3 separate regions of the Homo sapiens genome follow, and all the other regions are linked to region 3. Evidence: promoter capture Hi-C in 16 types of primary human blood cells and fetal thymus (Javierre and others, 2016). All regions are on one chromosome and are shown on one strand. The core of a region is centred on a gene start or on the middle of the fragment in contact, and the rest is flanking DNA. Distances in the headings are between cores, read along the strand shown.

What was found. The method cuts DNA at HindIII sites, captures the fragments that hold promoters and counts their contacts. A CHiCAGO score of 5 or more calls a contact.
Region 1: a contact is called between a fragment that was not itself captured here and the fragment with the promoter of PTS in region 3, in 1 of 17 cell types (non-activated CD4 T cells). The highest score is 5.4, in non-activated CD4 T cells.
Region 2: a contact is called between a fragment that was not itself captured here and the fragment with the promoter of PTS in region 3, in 3 of 17 cell types (fetal thymus, non-activated CD4 T cells and total CD8 T cells). The highest score is 8.2, in fetal thymus.

Annotation. Positions count from the first base shown.
Region 1 is chr11:113,112,268-113,116,317 of GRCh38, forward strand. The region is part of intron 1 of NCAM1 (neural cell adhesion molecule 1); the gene reads left to right. Among named protein-coding and RNA genes, the nearest start is that of NCAM1-AS2, 150 kb to the left of the region's middle. The HindIII fragment of the contact is 1,572 bases long and covers 1,442-3,013 here.
Region 2 is chr11:112,794,793-112,799,443 of GRCh38, forward strand. No RefSeq gene overlaps it. Among named protein-coding and RNA genes, the nearest start is that of NCAM1, 160 kb to the right of the region's middle. RefSeq lists enhancers at 3,148-3,825, 3,214-3,263, 3,294-3,393, 3,826-4,503. The HindIII fragment of the contact is 2,125 bases long and covers 497-2,621 here.
Region 3 is chr11:112,223,273-112,227,891 of GRCh38, forward strand. PTS (6-pyruvoyltetrahydropterin synthase) reads left to right here and starts at 3,156. Exons shown (of 6, transcript NM_000317.3): 1 at 3,156-3,254. The coding sequence starts at 3,172. RefSeq lists silencers at 3,027-3,436, 3,794-4,088. The HindIII fragment of the contact is 9,611 bases long and covers 1-4,619 here.

The sequences.
Region 1 (4,050 bases), core at 978-3,477, 890 kb after region 3:
CAGTGGAAATATTTACCATTCGAAACTTACTCTTTGGGAGTCTAATGAATGTTATTTCCTTTAAAAGGCACAATAAATATTTTCCTTCTGACCTCTAAAAGTAGATGGCAGAAAATAAAATTGATTGTTTTCCTCATAAATTTGAATAGACATATTACCTCTGTTTCAAAAATGACATCAGCTAGATGACTTCCCAGGCTAATGACAGTTTTCCTGCCAGACAGAACACTTGATTTACCATTGTCATGAAGTCACCGTGCCACCGTGTTTCCCATTCCCATTGCATGCTTGAAGAATTGTGATACTTAAGGTTTCCTATAATGAAAAATAAGAAAAAACTGGACAGGGCTCATTGTTCACCATTATGTAGAGAAAGATCTCTCCACAGCAAACATTATGAGAGTGTCTTCATTGGTCTTGCTGAACGTGGCCAGCCTTCTCTGTTCCCCACCCTGTTAACACATTCTCTGCCTCTTCTATGTGGATTTTTTTTAAGTACATATTAGTTTCATGAAGGTCTTTCTGCCTGGAGAAGTGGAATCCCCCAACTTTTGGAAAGCCTTTTAAAGTCTCCATGAGTCCAGCCAGGTGTGGTGTCTCACACCCGTAATCCCAGCACTTTGGGAGGCCGAGACAAGTGGATCATTTGAGGTCAGGAGTTCCAGACCAGCCTGGCCAACATGGTGAAACCCCGTCTCTACTAAAAATACAAAAATTAGACAGGCATGGGGGTGTGCACCTGTAATCCCAGCTACTCAGGAGACTGAGGCAGGAGAATTGCTTGAACCCAGGAGACAGAGGTTGCAGTGAGCCGATATCGCACCACACTGCATTCCAGCCTGGGGGACAGACCAAGACTCCGTCTCAAAAAAATTAAATAAAATAAAGTCTGCATGAGTCCAATTAGCTACCGTGTTTCATATCTTTTCTGTATCTAAAATTGTTATCCTCTGACCTAGTAGAAAGGGTCTAAACCTCTGCTTTCTTTTTAGATAAACCCATAGATTATTTTGGGGGGTGGTTGTGAGGTTTTTTTGCAAATTAGATGATCAGTAAGTCCCTAGCGCCATAGACTGGGCCAGATGCACTGGGCAATGTAAAGAAATAAGCAATGTCCTGCCCTATAGGAACTTGCCATTGTTCATTTGAATTTGTTGACTTTGTTTCTCTCTGGAATTATATATAATTTCCTGTTTGCTATGATCCTTACCTTAAAATAAACCTGCAGTATTATCCCATTCACTCCTTGGAATGTTCTGATTTATGACTATTCAGCAGTTCTGTCCCATCAATAGGCTCTCAGGAATGTCCTAAATTGGCAATCTGTGGACTGGTGGGTTCCATCTAGAGCCTGATAGGGTGGAACCACTAGACAAATGGAGAGTGTCTTTTGTTGTCGTTGCTTGTTTCAGCATCCCTGGAAGGATAATTTACTTTCCAAAGCTTCATTAGCTAAATGAAACTCAAGTCTTGCCTCTTTAGTTTAAGACAGGTTCTTTTAAAAAAAAAAAAATCTTGATGTGTCTTAGATAGATATTCTCTTGGATTATCTTCCCTTTTACATGATACAGGGCTTTAAAATCAACCTTGTGTTTGACACGATCAATGGATGGAGATCCAGGAAGAGGACTGGTGCTTTAGGATTTCACTTCACATTGCTGTCCTCTGCAGAGCCTTCTCTTCCAGTTGACATGCTGAGGGACTTGGAAAGGGCTAACAATCTGCTTTTAAACTAGCGATGTATTCTGATGCCCAGTGCTTCAAGCTGTTTCCCTTTTTAGGCTTAAGTTTGCCTGGAGAGGAAAGTGGAGACCTTGAATATTAAACTCTTTTTGCCTTGTGTGATTTGATGGTGGTTTTGTGGAGAATTATTTGTCCTTAGGTGGACTCTCAGCCCAGTTTGGAATGAAGTCATCATAGCCACTTGTGCCAGGCCCCAAACAACCCATATAGCTGATCTTTTCCCCGGAGTCAGAGACACAAATAGAACTGTTTCAGAGCATTGCAGAGGGGAACTCTAGAGAGGTTTGGCCGTGGCCACTCTCCTTTCTGCTTTTAAGATGAGGTGCATTGTGCTTGGACTGACTCCACATTGGTAACCAGGAGACAAGCAGCTCTAGAAGATGTTGCTCCTAGGGCATGGGGCTTCTCTGCCTAAGAAGCCTTAGGACATTTAAGCAGCAGGAAAAGAAAGGTCTGTTTTGGCTTTATCTAGCCATGTCACTGAGTATAATGACCCCACGATTTCTTCTTCTTCACATTCATTTTGATGCCAATTCTTTTTTGCTGTGCTTGGGGATTTTTGTTTTTCCTCTTCAGGCACTTCCCAGGGTTCTGCACAAGTGTCCTCTGCAGTGGGGTGGCATCCCTGCTCCCTCTGGTGGAAGGCCTGAGCCACAGTGCTCTGAGAGCACCTCACTCACTGCAGTGAAGCAAAAAATCCTGCCTAGCCTGTGTGGCGCAGCTTTCTATTTTGCAGTCATAACCTTTTACTCAGCTAGTCAACAACAGGTATTCTGTGACTGCCCAAGGCTGGAGAATCAACAGTTCCTATCTCATGGAGCTTGTATTGTAGACATGCATCAAAATTTTGTATCTGAAGTGCAAATACCAGAAATATATAAATTAAGACGAGCTCTCCTCTCCCCCACTGAAAATAAAGGAAGTCTTACTCAATTCTTGGGGGGAATTGCACCCAACTCACCAATGTTTTGTAGTAGGAAATTCAAAAATTCAGAAAAGACCGTTATAAATCTTAGGTTATTTTTCAAGAGACATAACTAATAAATAGTACCTGGGGAGGCCCCTGGACAGTCAGCACCCCCCAGCTGGTAGCATCCTGGGAGCAAGGTGGCTGTGCCTTTTGAGTTCCTGAGTTGCTGTTACTTTAGCACTTTACACATTGCCCCACCAACCAGCTGAAGTGCAGAAGGAGTGCAAAAAAAGTTACTTTAACCCAGATGTCCATCATAAAACGTACAAAACAGCTTGGAAATAGGTACTGTGTCAAGGAAGCTTTATTATGATAATATTACTAATGGAAAGACAAAAGTTGAACCAAGATATATTGCCTCCACATTCCTGGTAAAGGTTCAAAACATAAGCACAGAGTTACTAATGTGTGAGCTGTCTTTTCCCCAATTCTGTGCTAAGGAAGTGAAATTGCCATCAGTTTTAGTTTTTATAATTTCTGAGCATCCACATGAAATAGCAAGAAAGAAAATACCCTACCCTCCACCTCACTGGCAAGGGTGCCAGCAGTGTCTTTTAGATTCTGTAAGGGACACGGTGACCAGAAAGTCAGGACAAATGGATTCTACCATTAGCCAACCAACAAAATGAATTTTCAGATTGTTCTAGACATGAGAACAAAAGATCAGAGAAGCCACAACAATGAGATACCTGTTACACATGTATTCTTGGATCTCCTTCTTCCACTCTGTGGATGCTCTGAAGGAGGCTTTATTTACATGCACTAGTCGAGAAACAGTTTTTGTTGAAAACAGATAACAGTTACGAGAATCTGGCCAAGCTTAGACTCACAGATTCTGCCCAGCTAAATGGTGGGATGTCTCTTTCTTAGTTTTTAATTGTGGGAAAATACACATGACATAAAACTTGCCATCTTAACCATTTTTAACTGTAGAGTTTAGAATATGGATCTCCTTTAAGGAGGAATTAGGCTACTAACAGAATAAAAAGTTTAATTCTTTCTCTCATAAGTTTAAACTGACTTCTCTAATTCCCAAATAGACACAGGTTTACGGCAAATACAAAAATCTAGGCTTAAGGTGACAAAGCAGAAATAGATTATGCAAAAATTCATGGGAATAATAAAGGTATTCTTGTATGTAGTTGATATCTGATCACCTCCTTCGCCTAAGTGGTGAGCTTTTGACAGTAAGGGCTGTCTCATACTAATTCATATATTTGTAGCACTTAGCACAATGCGTTACTCAAAAGTACTCTAAAACTATTTGTTGCTTGAGTACTATCTATTTTTCAGTAAATAATCTTTTGTCCATTCAGGCAACTGCCCTGAAATTTTGC
Region 2 (4,651 bases), core at 309-2,808, 570 kb after region 3:
TTTGGTGATGATGACAGGAAGTTCAGCACTGAGGACAGAAGGCAGCTTTACAGAATAAAAGCCCTCTTCATTATACTATTTTTAAAAATTCCTTCCCACTGCCCCTCCAAAACAAACTGTTCCTTGATACTTTTATTACATTAATGTAATAAAAGTACACTGGAACAAATGCTTTTTTTTCTTCTTCTTTTTTTTTTTTTTTTTTTTTGAGACGGAGTCTCACTGTATCACCCAGGTAGAGTGCAGTGGCACAATCTTGGCTCGCCGCAACGTACACCTCCCAGGCTCAAGAATTCTCCTGCCTCAGCCTCCCAAGTAGCTGGGATTACAAGCACCTGCCACCACGCCTGGCTAATTTTTGTATTTTTAGTAGAGGCAGGATATTGCCATGTTGGCCAGGCTGGTCTCAAACTCTTGACCTCAAGTGATCCCCCAACCTTGGCCTCCCAAATTGCTGGGATTACAGGCATGAGCCACCATTGCCAGCCAGAACAAAAGCTTCTTAAAAGGCAGCAGTTTTCCTGAGAAGTTTTAATGTGGCGGGGTAAGTGTATGTCTCAGTCTCAGCCCTGCCACCTACCGGTGGTGGGAACCCAGCACAGGGTTGAAACACCTAACCTGACAGGCGGTTTCCTCATCTCTAATTCAGGATAGACCCGTCGGCCACGCCAACCTGAATGGGTTGTTATGGAGATAAAATCAGAAGATGTCTCTGAAATTGCTTTGTAAACTGTGAAGTTGCATCCACATGTAAAGCATTGGTATTAAGGAGCTGAATAAAGCCTCCATGGCAAGGAAAACTGTCAGTGAGAAGTAGAAATACTCCCCCTCACAGCGACGCCACAGGGGTGACAGCGAAAGAACAGCTGCTCAGCACCCGAGCTTGTCGGGAGAAAACACAGTGTCATCAGAATAAACCGCATAAATAGAACCCTCTTGGAGTCGTGCACCACCTGTTCCCACAGTTACCATCAGCCAGGCTTCACCACAACCCACCTACTCACGGAGGGCTGAGAGGACAGAAGAGAGGACCCTGTTTTACAGAGAGGTAAACTGAGGCCCAGGAGGGAAAAGCTCTTTCTTGTGGTCACACTGTGACCATGGACTTGAAAAGTCCCAGACTCATCCATTCCAGCACCAAACCCCACCTCCCTCATGATCCTCCTGACCAGCGCAGACCTGCTGCCAGTCAACTGCCAGCCCCCAAAGAGATCACTGGCCTGAGTTCTGAAACAGGCCACCCCCCAGCTGACCTGCTGTGAGCCACCCCTCCGAACTGACAGATGTACTCAGCCCGCAGCCTGCTGGCTCCGAGGACCTGACCTCTTGTCTTAGGAGGGAGTTGGACTGATGGGTAACACCTGCTTACCCCTCGGCAGGGCTGAGAGTCTTTCAGGCAGAACCAGTTTGGTCTATCTCTAACCCGCTAGTTGTTTGGAACCAGTGAACACAGAATGGAAAACAGAGTTCTAAATCCCCTTCACTCTTGAGGGGTCTTGGAAAACGCCGCTGCCAGGAGCTGGTATAAATCAGAGTGTTCTGAATGAATTAGGGATCCCATATTCTTCCCTCAACCCCAGCAAACCTCTTGGAGAGAGGCCCTGTGTGAGAGCATTAATAAATCACAGCTCAGTATAGCAGGTCGCTGGGCTGTTGGCACACTGTGGCTTTCCCCGGAGATGTGAGCGGCCGTGCAGAGCCTGTCAGAACTGGGGCTCTGAAGCCAGCCTGAACTTCTCACCCTGCCCTCGGCTGTGTCACCACACTGCTGCCCTCACTGGTGCCTCTTCTCCGCGGTGGCCAGCGATGCATATTATTCATTCAGATGTAGCTCCTGCTTAGAATGCGTGGTCAGCCCAGACTGCCCAGCAAGGGCCACCTGAGTTTTACTGGAACTCTGCTGCACTGTTTAGTTTACTCTTGATCCGGGCTGCTTTCATGCTATGAGGGCAGAGTTGAGTAGTTGAGACAGAGACCGCGTGGCCTGCAAAGCCTAAAATATTTACTGCCTGGGCCTTTACAGAAAAAGTGTGCCATTCCTGCATTATGTAGTTATCTTATTTAATTCTAACAATTACACTGTGAACTTGGTATGAGGACTTCTCTTAGAGGGGGAGAATCTGAAGATCAGTGTTTTAGTAACTTGCCCAAAGATGGACAACTGGTAAGAGGCAGAGCCCTTGCTCAGACCCTAGGTGTTTCCACTTCAAAGTCCAGATATACAATTCTGTCCCTCTGGGACACGTCCAGTCAACAGGCAAGACATGTTAGCACTACGGTGAAAGGTCTCATCTTTCTTGAATGGGAGAACCAGGTTTGAAACCATCATTTTGAACAAGGACTGGTTTAGGCCTATGTCATCCCCAGCCTTTCCCTCAGGTTCCAGATGGCAAGAAGCTGCTCTGAAGACCTACCAGGCAGGAGTCACAGCTTGTAAATAAACCTGAAACCCAGAAGAGCCAGTTAGGCTGGAGCAGCCCCTGGCCAGGCCAGGCAGAGTTACCATGACGACAGAGTCATTTCCATCACAAACCCTGCAACAGGCTTCCAGAAGGTGATTAATGGTTGACCTCTGGGGGCTGGGAACTCTCCCGGGGAGTATTCTTTCTAGTCTGGTGCAAAGCTTGGACCATCTACTTCTCTGCTCTCTGGTGGAGGTGAATATTGTAGTTGAGGATGCAGAGATAAAGCACCCCATCCCCTGACCTCCTAAATCCTGAAGTCAACCCAGGAAGCACCCTGTGAAAACCATGCTCCAGCCTTGAGCAGAGGCAGGCTAATCCAAGAAACTCAAGGGCAGACAAAAGAAAACAAGGGAAGCCAAGGGAATGAGTGAAAGACTATATAAGTTGGTTCATTCTTGCTGGATAAATGGCACCCACTCACCAAAGGGAGAAGGTACAAAAAAGAATTCAGCGAGGCAAGAAGCAGGTAGTGAAAAAAGGCGGGGGAATCCTACCTCCTTTGAGTCCAGAGAAAAGCCTTTTCTACAAACTCAAGAAGAGGGGGCGGAGAAGGACGGGCCGCCTGCCAAAGCAGTGACCCATGTTGATTGTGAATTTCAACAATAGTGACTTGAGGAGGCTCAGATGTCCCACGTCCCCTCGCCCATCGCCAATGGGTGGTCACCGACTGCCTGCCAGGTGGGGTGACCCGGGTTCTGCACCCCAACCTTGGGATGTCTGTTATAGAGCCATTTGGGGCTCATTCATTGACAGTTTTTCTCTCTGCTGACATTTGGGTGGCTCTGCCTGCCTAGTCATTGTTTTTGTTTGGCCATTTTCACTGTGGATGAGTCACTCCCCGTCGAACCCTGCAGGGGGCGGTCAGGTGCTGGCTGTGTTGGTACCAGAATCCCAGCAGCTGGTTGTATCAGTTTCATTCTTTTCGCTGAGACAGTGTAACTCTGGGGTTGAAATGGTGAGCTTGTGTGAGAGAGGAAAGAGAAGGCATCTCCCCACTTGGAGTCTGAGCACACTGCTTTGAAATGCAGCTCAGGAAGAGGCTCCCAGCCCTCACTCTGTCCTCTTCTGCTTTTGGAAAAGTAGAACCAGGAAATCGTATCTCCGATGGCACACCCTAACACCATCAGAACGTCCCACAGCTGCACCAAGACCCAAAATACTCCATGAAGAAATGTCATTGTGGATGAGGACCTCAGTTCACAGACCCATTCCTACAAAAAAAAATTAGCTACATTTTCTATAACTCAAATGATTTTCAGTTTCAAGCTCCCATTCTGTGGCAGGAAATTAATCTCAGTTAATTTCAGGTCTCCCATTTTTCACTTAACAGGAAGTTGCATCCAATTTAGGGAGGGGCTACCTGGTGCCCTTGCATGAAGTGGGGGGCAGGGGTGCGATCCCATCCTCGGTGACATCTCGTTGGCATCCACGCACATGTCCTTGTCCTATCTGGGCTGTGGTCCTCTGGCTACGTGGTCACTGCTGTGTCCTCTTCTCATCGCAGAGCCTTTCCAGGTTTCTGGGCTTTTCTGGGCCACATGCCCACAGCTCTCAGCTGCACACTATATGTTCTGCTTTGTGGAGACCTTGTGAGGCTGCTGTCCATACTCCTGGATACCCCTTTCTGGGAGCACTCACCATTCACTACATTTCCCGCTTCCTTGACTCTCCTTCTTTGCTAAGCGCATCTAGATGCGCCTGGATTCCAAGCATCTAGATAGGTCTTGTTCCAAATCCTCCGATTTTGTCCTGGGTTCTCTCTGACCTGCTTTGACTGCTGCACTTTTGAAATTCAAATTACAAGAACTGGCTTCTGGATTTATCATGACTCCTTGCCTGCCGCGTCTGACCGGGGCACCGGGGGAACCCACCACCTCCTAACTCTGTGGAAGTCCAACGTCACCCTGATTTCAAGTTCTCAGGTGGCTTGTGTCCTCATGGTCACATCTGACTCAAAGCAGGGTTTTCTCTGCATTAATCCAGGCTATGGCTGCTTGCTGCCCACTCCTACTGTCCCCCTCTTACAACACATCAACCCAGGTGCCAAATTCAGACCCTTTATAGGATTTACAAATGCACTCTCCATACTATGCTTCTATGTGTGTGTTAGATTTTACCGAAAGCAGGGTAGGGATGAAGAAGGATGTTATTGAGCAGCAACCTCCCAACAAATATTCCAAAGGAGT
Region 3 (4,619 bases), core at 1,906-4,405:
CTTCACATGATCTTCCCTCTGTATGTGTCAGTTTTTGAGTCCAAGTTTCCCCTTTCTACAAGAACATTAGTCATGTTGGATTAGGTCCCATCCTAAACACCTCATCTCAATACGTGTGCAACAATCCTATTTCCAAACAGGTTAAACTTCAACTCTGCAAATGCAGTGAAATATTTTACTAAAACAAACAAGTATTATTAATAAAAATAATTTTGCAGAAATTTCTCTTACTCTTTCACTTTATTTTGATTCTTTAAGCTGGTTTTGGAATGAGCAACTATTTGTGTAACCACTGACTGTTAGAGAGTATTTATCACTGAGGCAGTCCATACCTGGGAAATAATGTTTCTGTTCTGAGTGATCTCGCAATAGTAATTCACTTATCTGTGGCTGTATTTTCTTATCTGTAAAGTGAAAGTATTGAACTAAACAGTCTCTATCTCGAAAATCTCTAAATGTTATTTGAAGTTTTTTCTTTACAGTACAATGGGGTAGATGAGACAAACATCTGAAAATGTATGGAGAGTGTTTGCTAAATAACCTGTTAGTAGTTTAATGCAGAACAAACAGAATATATAGCTGTAAATAGGAGATATTTGAGGGAAATCACCATTTGAGCTTATTTCTATCGCCCCCATGATTTTATCTTTCTTTTTACAGGAAACTTTTCCAAGCCTGTTATTAATCAGTGACTTGTCCTGCTTTTCATCATATACAGTGATGATTTTTCTCATATAGAGTGGAGCTGTCCTCTCCAGTACCTGGAACAATGCCAGCCACATAGTAGATGCCCAATAAATATTTAGTGAAAGAGTGAATGGAAGCAAGAGGTGACATGATTCTGGGAACTGTGTGTAGTTTGGTTACTCTTGTGAGTAGATGTGAGGAAACAAGATCCTTTCACTCTCAATGTGTCTACACTGGCAGAAGAATTGCTAATATGTGTTTAGGGGTGTCTGTATTCACACTATGCCAACCCAGAGTAATAAATGGGTCCATACATGCTTGTGGATAAGAATGGCTTTAGAATTTCCCTTAGTAAGGATCATTACACAACAGTCCAAAGGACTGTTGTCACGTGGTCCTATTTGTGCTCTCAAATTCTTGCTCTTTAAAAATTTTTTTTTAAAGAAACGGTATTAATCCTAAGCAAAAAGAACAAAGCTGGAGGCATCACGCTACCTGACTTCGAACTATACTACAAGCCTACAGTAACAAAAACAGCATGGTATGGGTACCAAAACAGATATATACACCAATGGAACACAACAGAGGCCTCAGAAATAACACCACACATCTACAACCATCTGATCTTAGACAAACCTGATAAAAACAAGAAATGGGGAAAGGATTCCCTATTAAATAAATGGTGCTGGGAAAACTGGCTAGCCATATGTAGAAAGCTGAAACTGGATCCCTTCCTTACACCTTACACAAAAATTAACTCAAGATGGATTAAAGACTTAAATATCAGACCGAAAACCATAAAAACCCTAGAAGAAAGCCTAGGCAATGCCATTCAGGACATAGGCATGGGCAAGGACTTCATGACTACAACACCAAAAGCAATGGCAACAAAAGCCAAAATAGACAAAAGGGATCTAATTAAACTAAAGAGCTTCTGTACGGCAAAAGAATCTACCATCAGAGTGAACAGGCAACCTACAGAATGGGAGAAAATTTTTGCAATCTACCCATCTGACAAAGGGCTAATATCCAGAATCTACAAAGAACTTAAACAAATTTATAAGAAAAAAAATCAAACAACCCCATCAAAAAGTGGGCAAAGCATATGAACAGACACTTCTCAAAAGAAGACATTTCTGCAGCCAACAGACACATGAAAAAATGCTCATCATCACTGGCCATCAGAGAAATGCCAATCAAAACCACAATGAGATACCATTTCACACCAGTTAGAATGGCGATCATTAAAAAGTTGGGAAACAACAGATGTTGGAGAGGATGTGGAGAAATAGGAATGCTTTTACACTGTTGGTGGGAGTGTAAATGAGTTCAACCATTGTGGAAGACAGTGTGACGATTCCTCAAGGATCTAGAACTAGAAATATCATTTGACCCAGCCATCCCATTACTGGGTATATACCCAAAGGATTATAAATCATGCTACTTTAAAGACACATGCACCTGTATGTTTATTGTGGCACTATTCACAATTGCAAAGACTTGGAACCAACCCAAATGTCCATTAATGATAGACTGGATTAAGAAAATGTGGCACATGTACACCATGGAATATTATGCAGCCATAAAAACGATGAATTCATGTCCTTTGCAGGGACATGGATGAAGCTGGAAACCATCATTCTCAGCAAACTATCACAAGGACAGAAAACCAAACACTGCATGTTCTCACCCATAGGTGGGAATCAAACAATGAGAACACATGGACACAGGGTGGGGAACATCACACACCGGTGCCTGTCAGGGAGTAGGGGGCTGGGGGAGGGATAGCATTAGGAGAAATACCTAATGTAAATGACGAGTTGATGGGTGCAGCAAACCAACATAACACATGAATACCTATGTAACAAACCTGCACGTTGTGCACATGTACCCTAGAACTTAAAGTATAATAATAATTAAAAAGAAAAAAGAAAAAGAGAAACGAGGGTCTTGCTCTATTGCCCAGGTTGGACTCCTGGGCTGAAGTGATCCCTCTCCTTCTCAATAGCTGGGGCTACAGGAGTGCGTCACCACGCCCGCCTGGCTCAATTCCTGCTCCTTTTGGTCTATAAAGCGGACTGTGGCCCTGGGGTTCATCCGATTGAGTCACCAGTCACTGGAGCTTTACAGGAGAGAGTGGGAGAGGAGGCTCAGAGAGGTCACTCAGGACCCAAAGTGTGCCCAGACGGGCCCTAACTACGTGGCGTGACCTCAGGCGGGGCAAACAGATCAAGGACACAGGGTCCCCACCCACCCTGACCACTCCAGGGTATGCTTAGGTATCCCAAATCTTGCTCTCCGAAGAGATTCAGATAGCGAGAGACACCCTTAACTGTCTCCCGAGGCCGGGATTGGCCAGAGCGGAAGCGGAGACGCACTTCCTAGGGGCGCGTCTGGCACGCACTGCGCAGCCGCGGTGGGAGGAGGCACCGGCCGCGCGGCGGGAGGAGGTGCCGGCCGAGCACCGCAGACAGCGCCGGGAAGATGAGCACGGAAGGTGGTGGCCGTCGCTGCCAGGCACAAGTGTCCCGCCGCATCTCCTTCAGCGCGAGCCACCGATTGTACAGGTAGGGTGTGCACACAGGTACAGCGGCGGGCGGTGGGCGCCGGGCCCCGGAACGTCACCGGGGCGGGGCCGGCGGGCGTGCTGACGTCGGGCCCGGGAGGGGCGCGGGGGCTGCTGGGGCGACGCGCGCTGGTCGGCTTCGTGGGGCTTCGGACGGCCTCCAGCATCCTGATGGGGGCTGGAGTGTCCCCAGCCCTGGAGGGGTGGGGGAGCTTGATGGTTAACGGAGCCGACTGCGGAGGGCGATGGCCCACGTCTGGGTGCGGGGCCCACACCCGGTTCTGCGACTCGAAGAAACGTCTCTGCCCCTAGGAGTCCCTTGGTGTAGACCACAGGGTTGCTGTGAAACTCAGCAGTGTTAAACTCGCCTATGTTACACAGTACCTGGCGCGGCGTAGACACTCAGTAAATGTTAGCTAATCTTGTATGCCAGGAGCATTGGCCACCATATCTAATGTAATTACAAGGCAAATTTTAGCCCCTTTTTTACCAAAGACTGGATGAACCCAGTCCCTGGTGGTCTAGTGGCTAGGAGAAAAAAAAAAAAAAATGAGCCCAGACGTTCAGTTTCCGAAGCAGCATAGTTGGGATTTGAATCCCGATCATACATACTGCTTGCATGCACTGACGAGTTGATTTTGAGGAATTTTACCACGCACTAACCAGCTCCACCCTCTGGCCCTCCGTATCGTCGTCTGTGAAATGAGGATGACCATCGCTATCTAACAGGATTCATCCCTCCATTCGCTAAACCAGGTTTTGTTTCGTGCTTGTCAGGGCTTGTGCTAGGTAACGGATGCATCAGGGATCTTGTATGGGGTTTCCAATCTGGCCTATTTTGTGGAGGGTACACTGAGAAAATTTTGTGCAAAAGACTTTAGCACTCTAAATACAAGAAGTGGCTGAGCAGGAGAAAGTGGGGGTGTGTTATTCCATTTTGCATTGCCACAAAGGAATACTGAGACTGGTATTTTATAAAGAAAAGAGGTTTATTTGGTTCTGCAGGCTGTACAAGAAGCATGGCACCAGCATCTGCTTCTGTTGAGGCCTCAGGGACCTTCCACTCATGGTGGAAGGCGAAGGGCGAGCAAGCAGGCAACTCACAGGGCAAGTGAGGGAGCAAGAGAGAGGAGAGGAGGTGCCAGGCTTTTTTTAACAACCAGCTCGCCCATTGACTAATAGAGCGAGAACTCACTCATTGCTTCAGGGAGGGCACCAAGCCATTCATAAGGGATCCACTTCCATGAGCCAAACATCTCCCACTAGGCCCCATCTCCAACACTGGGGATCACATTTCAACATGACAATTGGAGGGGACAAACATCCAAACTACATTGGGGGGAATAATAAAGAGGATCTCAAAAAA